3 separate regions of the Homo sapiens genome follow, and all the other regions are linked to region 2. The links are contacts of gene promoters, found by promoter capture Hi-C in human tissues and cell types (Jung and others, 2019). All regions are on one chromosome and are shown on one strand. The core of a region is centred on a gene start or on the middle of the fragment in contact, and the rest is flanking DNA. Distances in the headings are between cores, read along the strand shown. Region 1 overlaps SND1 (staphylococcal nuclease and tudor domain containing 1). Region 2 holds the start of PRRT4 (proline rich transmembrane protein 4). Region 3 overlaps SND1 (staphylococcal nuclease and tudor domain containing 1).

What was found. Contacts are between HindIII fragments. The study calls those that stand out against the background at their distance.
Region 1: a contact is called between a fragment that was not itself captured here and the fragment with the promoter of PRRT4 in region 2, in 1 of the 25 tissues and cell types used here (spleen).
Region 3: a fragment that was not itself captured here is called in contact with the fragment with the promoter of PRRT4 in region 2 in 1 of the 25 tissues and cell types used here (spleen).

What each region holds. Positions count from the first base shown.
Region 1 is chr7:128,092,313-128,095,012 of GRCh38, reverse strand. SND1 (staphylococcal nuclease and tudor domain containing 1) reads right to left here. Exons shown (of 24, transcript NM_014390.4): 24 at 2,420-2,700. Among named protein-coding and RNA genes, the nearest start is that of MIR593, 12 kb to the right of the region's middle. The HindIII fragment of the contact is 7,467 bases long and covers 1-2,700 here.
Region 2 is chr7:128,360,144-128,362,969 of GRCh38, reverse strand. It overlaps PRRT4 (proline rich transmembrane protein 4), which reads left to right and starts at 1,280. Exons shown (of 6, transcript NM_001174164.2): 1 at 1,280-1,409; 2 at 1,548-1,664. RefSeq lists enhancers at 1,345-2,213, 2,214-2,826. The HindIII fragment of the contact is 21,921 bases long and covers 1-2,826 here.
Region 3 is chr7:127,884,268-127,886,997 of GRCh38, reverse strand. All of the region lies in intron 12 of SND1 (staphylococcal nuclease and tudor domain containing 1), which reads right to left. Among named protein-coding and RNA genes, the nearest start is that of SND1-IT1, 110 kb to the left of the region's middle. The HindIII fragment of the contact is 6,564 bases long and covers 1-2,730 here.

The DNA.
Region 1 (2,700 bases), core at 85-2,584, 270 kb after region 2:
CGCTGCGGAGGAGTCTCAGCCACCAATACTTCCCTGGTGGCTTTCCCAAGCCCTGGGCTCTGCTGCATCCACCCTCGGAGACCAGGAGACTCCTCAAGCTGCCCAGAGATAAGCGATGCCTTCCCACCATCTGCTAGCCCCAGCTCTTCTCCTTTCCTCTGGGAAACTTCCCAGCCACCTGGGCCAGGGCCTCTGTCCCTTAAAGTCCCAGGGCACCACCCACTGCTGTGGCTTGTTATAGATAGCATGCATCTGCTGCCTCCTCGAGAGCCCAGAGAGATGACCTTGGCACTCACTGGACCCAACACTGTGCTTGGCACTATCTGGGTCTTAATCCCTGCTTGGAGGAAGCCTAAATGGATGGATAACAGGTGCTCAAGAGACTTCACTATTCAACAGGAAAGGTGGATGGAGAAGCAGAACCCACAATCCTGAGGCCAAGGTGCAATTTTTATAACTCAGGGGGAGTGGGAGGAACCTGTGGAGAGCTTTTTCTGGCTACTGGTGCAAGGGCTGGTGCTGAGTGGACAGCTACAGATGAAAATAGAACATGCCAATGTGTGCGCACTCTGTGAGTGCCTCCTTCAAATCTGCACCCTTGGCGCGTGGCTTGCCTCACCCTGGTCCCAGCCCTATCCAGGTCACACCTCAGGAACTTGGCAGATGTGATACCGAGAGAAACACCAAGTTGGGGTCAAAACCAGACAAGCTGCGGTAGCGCCTTCCTGCCTGGTGACTGATCTGACCTTTGTCTCAACCAGCCTTGGCAGAGAAAAAACTCAGAAGTGGGAAGGCTCAGGCATAATTTCAATTGGAAAACTAAGGAGGGTTTATCCTTGGGTGCAGATGTAACCAAGGCAACTGTGAAGACCGTGAGATGATTTCAGACCCTTTCACAAAAGAGTGGGCTGGCATCTTGCCCTCTGCCGATTGTGTTCACTGTGAATACACATCGCACCCTACCAGAAGCACCTTGGAGGTCAAGAAATAAGTGAGATGGGCATTCTCTTCTTGATGGATAAAAATAAAATCAGAGACCATGGTGAGAGTGTGCTTCTCTGCTGGGGGCAGGACAGCTTCTCCAGGAGTGGGGATGATGAAGAGATTCACACCAAGTCATCATCCACACCCCTCCTGACTTCCTGGGCCCCCTAAGGGGCTGCATGTAGTCAAGGGAAGCACAGTTTACTGGACCATAAAGGGTCTGATTCAGACAGTGTAAGCGCTTGTTCTGGCTAAGCCGGAGGCGCTGCAAGTAGAAACTGTGAGTCCCCACGAGGACCAAGGGAAACTAGTGTTTCTGGAGTTGAACTGACTCAACATTTCTCCCCATGGCCCCTCCCTGGCTCTTCCTACCCTCACCTAACTATAGCGCACCTTGAGTATAAGCAGCACACATGAGAACCCCGTAAGAGCCCTGGCCAGAACAAGTGTGTGTTACGGCAGGACCTCCAGCTGAGGAATGAGATCCAGCCAGCCAGGCCCTACCACCTCCACTGACTGTCCCTGTAGCCCCCAAGATCAAAGGGTCAATTTTATATGGCAGCTTGGAGCATCACCCCAGATCAGAATGTTGGTGGGATGTGGGGCTGTCAGAAAGACGTGCCACCAAGTTTCACCAAAGTATGTGCCAGGGAGGGGCGGGGGCACACAGGTAATGCCGTCAGTGGAGGAATAATGAGGCGCTGGACACCATGGGTGTGGGGAGTGGTGACTCTCACACTTGACTTTCTCTCCCCGGGACTCCTGGCCTCACACCACCATGGCTCCTCCCTCATGGGCTACACGCAGCCTGAGGATTCTGAGCTCCAGGGCCAGTTCTACCTGAGGACTTTTGGGGAGAGCTTATCAAGTCAGACATGAGCAATGGCTAACCTGGAGCAGACAGGCCTCTCACCTGGGACCTGGGTCCCTCTTGGAGAAGCCGGCCCTCCTAGCTCTGTTCTCCGGAGAGGAACCAGGGGGCCTGCGTTCTAACCCACTCTATCCCAGACACAGCAGGAATTAGGGAAATCACCTCATTGCTCTCAGCTGATTCCTTTTGAATCCTTTCTTGGGGATCTGGCAGGGTCTGCCTAAGGCCAGACCCAGCAATTCACAGTGGGTAAATTGTCCTGGGTGCTGCTGGCCAAGCTGCTGTAACTCTCTAAGGTCCTTGAAAACAGCCATGTGCAAGAAGTCAAAAAAGACCTGTAGCCTCCTGCATGATGGCCATGGTGCCAAGTGGTGCCCACTGGGTCCAGGAGTTGCTTGCTCAGACTCTGAAGATCTGCCTTGCTTTCCCCAGCTGGCTCTATTTCTAGGGAGAATGTCCAGGCATTTGGATGACTATCTTGGGGGTCATTCAAGTGTCCAGGTCTCCTCCTGGGTGAAGCTGCCAAGACTCCATGCTCTGGACCACACTGTGATCAATAAGGGCTGCAGACAGCACGTACTATTTTATTGGGCCTCAAAAGCTTTAAATACAGAATGGGCTGGCCAGAGCGAAGATGTGAACACACTGGCATTTGAGAATGGACGTATCAGAAAAATCACATAATCAACAGTTGGACAGAGAGCTGGGACGAGGGCAGTCTGGGATAGAGGCAGGTGCCAGCTGGCGGCCAGCCTGGGTGTTAGGATTACTCCCTCCACTAGGACATAGTCTTTGATGTTTCTTCCTGATTTGAGGACTTTTTTTTTTTAAAAAAAGCCCACAAA
Region 2 (2,826 bases), core at 31-2,530:
TAGTACTTCAGTTAGTCACTACTACAACTTAACAGGTTCCATGAAGTATACATAGTGACTGCTCGGTTTTCTTGGTCATCTTCAACCTGTGTCAGCTTTTGCCTGAGCTCTCTTACTTTCTGTGAAGGGGCACGCTCTTTTTTCTTTGTTTTTCCTTTTGAGACAGGGTCTTGCTCTGTTGCCCAGGCTGGAGTGTAGCGGTATGATCACAGCTCACGGCAACCTCCACCTCCCAGGCTCAAGCAATCCTCCAGTCTCAGCCTCCCAAATAGCTGGGACTACAGGTGTCTGCCACCATACCCCATCACGCCCAGATAATTTCTTTCTTTCTTCTTTTTTTCTTGCTTGCTTGCTTGCTTGCTTGCTGTTTGTTTGTTTTTATTTTATCTTTTGCTATGTTGCCCAGGCTGTTCTTGAACCCCGGGGCTCAAGCGATCAGCCTGCCTCAGCCTCCCAAAGTGTTAGAATTACAGGCGTGAACCACTGAACCCAGCCTTTGATTTTACTGTTCTCCTCACACCTCTTACTAGAAACCAGTTGTAATCCACTTCTCACAAGCAGCTTAGCTCACCATTCTTTCTGGCAGACATTTCTGAAACAGTATTTTTGAGAGATCAGTTTTAGCGAAAAGACATGTCACACAGGGATTGGCATTTGGCAGTTCACCGGTGAAGTGTTGGAGGCACTGCTGTGTAGCAGTGCAACTGTTGAAAACCACCAGGTGGTGGAGAGGGCCGGCAGGGAGACGGTTCGAGTTTCTACCAAGCTGTGCAATCTTGGGCAAATTCGGTAATTTTCTGTGTCTTCATTTAATTGTCTGCAAAGTGGCGACATACACAGGGTTGCGGTGAGGACTCATGAGATAAAGGAAGTAGAATTGTCCATTGTACTTCTACTTAGCAAACGGTGGGACTCTTATTGCCCGGGGTGCCATCCTGGGGCAGGCTGCCATGTGTGCGCGTGTGTGCGCGCGCCCTCTGACCTGCGAGTGTGTTTCCTGGCGCGCGTGTGGATGTGTGTGCTGGGCCGCCCTGGGAGTGTGTGATTGCTCTCGCCAGGCTCACAGCGAGGCGCCCGCCGCGGCTGATTGACAGCGCTGGGTGAATGAGCGCGCGTGGAGGCGCCCGGCACCGAGGTGGCCGCGGCTCCGCGCTGCTGTGAGCGCCTGCCTGCCCGCCCGGGTGTGGGGGGACCGCGGGTGGCGGGCTGGGTGGGAGGAGGAGGAGGAGGAGGAGGAGAGAGGGCGCGGGAGCGAGGGCGGGCGGACGGGAGGGCCGTCAGAGCCGGCTGCCGCGGAGCCCCGGCGCGGGCGGCTTCGCCGGGGAGCGAGGCTCGGAGCCAGGAGGCGGCGCCGCTGGGAGGGAGCGCGGAGTGCGGAGTGCGGAGCGCGGGGCCTGGCCGCCCGCCTGGTGAGAGCGCTGCGGGCCGGGGCTGGGCCGGGGGCGGCTCAGGGGCAGCGGGGCGGCGAGGCTGCGGTCTCTGGACTAGGCGAGGGGCCGCCGGGGGCTGGAGGTCCGGATCTTCAGTCGGGGCGCTGGGCACAACAGAGAGAAGCGGTGAGATACCACGAAGCGTTGCCCAGCTGGGCGCCAGGGCCGCCACGACCGCCCCTTTTCGGAGGCTCGGCGAGGAGACCTGCCTGCGGGAGAGACCCCGGGGAGCAGGTCGGCCGGTCCGGGCTGGGGGTGTGTGTGCGTGTGCGCGCGCGTGTGTGCATGTGTGCCTGCGAGGGGTGGTGGGCGTGTACGAGTGTGGGGGGATGGCGGTGTGTGGCATGTCTGTGTGTGTGAATGTGTGTAGGGGGTGTGCATCTCTGTACAGTACATGCCGTGTGTGTGTGTGTGTGTGTGTGTGTGTGTGTGTGTGAGAGAGAGAGAGAGAGAGAGAGAGAGACAGGGGAGGCCGGGGGCTCACAGAGCTTGGGTTTGAACCCATGCAGGGAGGAGAGTGGCTCGGCAGGACGGAGTGTGTGTGTGTGTGTGCGCGCGCGCGTGCAGGGGCAGGGGGGTATGTGACGGGTGAGTGTGTCACGGGCGCTAGATGTGGCTATGTGTGTGATGTAAGGGTGCCGGGTGCATGTGTGTCCCTGGCTCACCCTCCCTTCCCCCACCAGATGTGTGCGCACAGAGGAGAGAGTTCTGGGGAGGGGGTAGGAGTCCGCCGCAGCTGCCTGCAGTTCGCCCAGCTTGCCTGCCTGGCGTTCTCCTCCAGGAAGCCGGAGATCGCCAAGCTGCCCCTCCCCCGAATACTTCAAGGGTCCTAGGGAAGGGAACAGGCCCAGCCCCAGGAAACGGGAGGGGCGGGAGGGAGGGTGCTTCTGCCAGATTGGGAACCTTGCTTCTCTGGCCAGAGCCTGGGCGGCCTTCTGACTGGGCCAGATCACTCAGCTCTGGCTTTACCCCTCCCGAGGCCCTGTGCCCCCTGGGGTCTGAGAGTGAGGGCGCCAGCACTTCTGGCTGGGGCGGGAGGTGGGGGTTGGAATAGGTCAAGACATCGGAAGGGCTTGCTTGTTCACAGTTATATGCCCAGAAGGGTGCTTGGCAAACGGTAAGCCTGCGTAAAGACTTGAGGCTCAGCAGAGGGAAGGAAGAGAGGAATCCATGTCTGGAAGCCCAAGTCCATCCCTTTTGCTACTAGTTAAGGATGAGGGCCCCTGGTTGCAGTCAGACCCCAGCTTCTGCATGAGCAGAGGGGGAAGGAGGAACCCCCAGGCAGGGATTTGTGCTGGGGCCTGAAGGTACAGGAAGGGCCCGGCAAGAAGAGCCAGAGCCATGGACAGGACACTTTGCATCCTGCCCACACTACCTGCTTCTCTGAGATCAGAAG
Region 3 (2,730 bases), core at 99-2,598, 480 kb after region 2:
AAGATGGGGAACAAAGAAAGTAAACAATATAAAATCTGAGATGACCAGTTTTGGAGCAATACTCCATGGGAGCTACAAAAAATCTCAGGTTAGACTCTAATGCAAAGTAATTCTCAAATGCAACAAATCTTTTTTTTTTTTTTTTTTTGCCAGAATAAGAAAATTGCTCACACTTGGGAATGAGAGATGCCACTCTATGTGGCCTGCATCTACTAGCTAGAGAAGGATGAATGGGAAATGATATGCAGACACTTAATGATACATATTTGAATGGTTCCTCCCCAACCTGGAAAGGGAACTTTGTTATGAACAATCAAACTGCAAAAACAAATTTTCAAAAATTAAGTATAATTAACTATAGCAAATACTGGAAAACAAGAAGCATGATATTATTGAGGGAGAATGGTGGTTATGTCTTTCTTTGTGTCTGTCATAATTACACCAAAGGCCCTACTCAAACCATCTGGTTTGCTGCCCTTTAGGGAGAGGCTATGGTAAGCAATAGGCTACCGTGCCATATGCTATGACTGAGTATTGTTTGAAAATGTGGTTAACTCCTAACACACCAGTGGTTCTTAGAAAGTTATACTGTGGGGATGCTGGGAGCTGAACCAACCAGTATCTGTGCATGTTTACGCAATTTAAGGGCTCTATTCGTCAAAACCCAGGAGAACATGCTTTTTTTTTTTTAAAGAAGAAAAAATAAATGTGTTGGTAGAGCAAGGAGGAAAAGATGCAGTGGCTGATTATCTTCTCATTATATGCCCCTCGGATGTCTGTTTATCTACTGCCAGCACGGTATTAATATCTCCAAACTGCCACGGAATTAGCACTTCTCAAAATCCACTCCCACAAAGAGGCTGCTTTGCTGGCCACCCTGTCTCCTGAGTCACCACATAAGCGTGCTGGCAAATGCTGTCATTATCACAGAGTTGTGTTTGGCAGCATGGAGAAGGCAACAGCCTCAAATCAGCAGATGTAGATGTTGATACATGGTGAGGATTTAAACTAAGGTTGTCACTAAGGGGCCCTAGCAGGGAACAAGAGAGGCTCCACCCATCAAAGAGCTAGTAAGAAGGCTGGGGAGTGGCATGGGGGACAACTCCACTTTTGATAGTTTGAGATGTCCTGGCTGTTTTAAATGCCAAGAAAACAAAGAAATATTTGTTACTGCATTTTGAATTACTGAGCATTGACATTTTACAGTAAATACATGGGGTTTGGAGGAGAAAGTGGGAATGGCAGAGCAGGCAAGGAAAAATTCACACAAACAAGCTTTGATATATAAAGAAAAACAACACAAATGTTTAATGATCCACCCCAGTTAATGCTGCTCAAATCAATACACAGAATTACTGAGTACCTGCCTGGCCGGGAAAAACCAAGGGCACTTTCTCTACTCTTCCTTGTCCCTGCCCTCTTTATCCTATCAGCAAATGTCTACAAACCAGTTAAGACCTGCCATATGGAGTTCCTGAGGCCTTAGATTCCCAAATCACTCCACACCCTGCCCACTAACTTTCTTCTCTCTTTCCTTTAAAGCTCAGCATCTAAGCCATGTTCTCTTAGCTTCTTATCCCCTAATTATAGATTTCTCCTGGAGGAACAGTTGTGATGCTGGTGCTTAGCGGTAACAAGAGTAAAAATACATGAAATGATAACAACCATCACCATTGGGCATTCACTACGTGCAATGCATATGAGAATCACATGTGTTCTCTTCTTGGTGGGTTCCCCATGTGATACACCATCACAATATATGGCAATTATTCATTCATTGTTTATCTTCCTTGGTGAGTGATAAACACTGTGAGGGCAGGGGCCATGCTTTTCTTGCTCTATATCCCAGTTCCAAGCACAGTATTTTGCACAAAGTATAGGCTAGTCTGGCTTGGGGTGTCAGAGCCCCATAGGAAGGTAAGGATGATCACTCATACAAGGTATCAGAGTTCAACCTGGGTGCAAACATCCACATGGAAGGTGGCTCCATAGCCAGGCATTAAAGACTGAGTGTCCACTTGGGAGGGGTGACATCAGTGTTACAAGATTGGTTACACTAAGGAATATCAACCCTACCAGTGAAAGTACTAAGGATAAGCCAGGTTTCTCACTGTCAGAGTAGGTATATACAAATATGGAAAGGAAGAAAACTAGAATGAACCCTGTAGCAGTGGATTGGAATTTTAGGTATTTGTGTGAACTCATGGTATGTTGGTTCAGGTTCTATAAGAGGCACGTGCCAAGAAGGATTAGATGTGCAAGAGATTAATTGGAGAAAACTCATCTCAAGGAAGGTGGGAAGGGAACCCCAGGAGGCCTGGGAAGAGCCAACAGACTGCAGTGCAGGTCAAACCCCTGTGCAGAATGGAGGGAATGAAGGAAGGTTAGATAGGGAACATCTGAGCTACGGGCCTGTTCCAAAGAGTTTCGTCAAAGCTTGATAAGAAGTCAAAATTGTCCGTCAGAGGAACCCTATGTCCCTCAGCAATAGGCCTGCCTTAGTATCTCTGTTGCGCTCCGCTATTGGCTGGGAGCAGCTGGTGGGAAGCATAGCCTTGGCTGAAGTAGCAGTGATTGATTTCAAAGCACAGCAGCTGGGCTGTCAGTCTATTATGTTTCCTGCAGTTGGAGATCCAGGAGGCACATTTTCATGACTGCCACACATGGTTTTCAATAGATATAGATAGATTTAGAAATAAACATATAAAAATAAATATAGATGGAAATGTG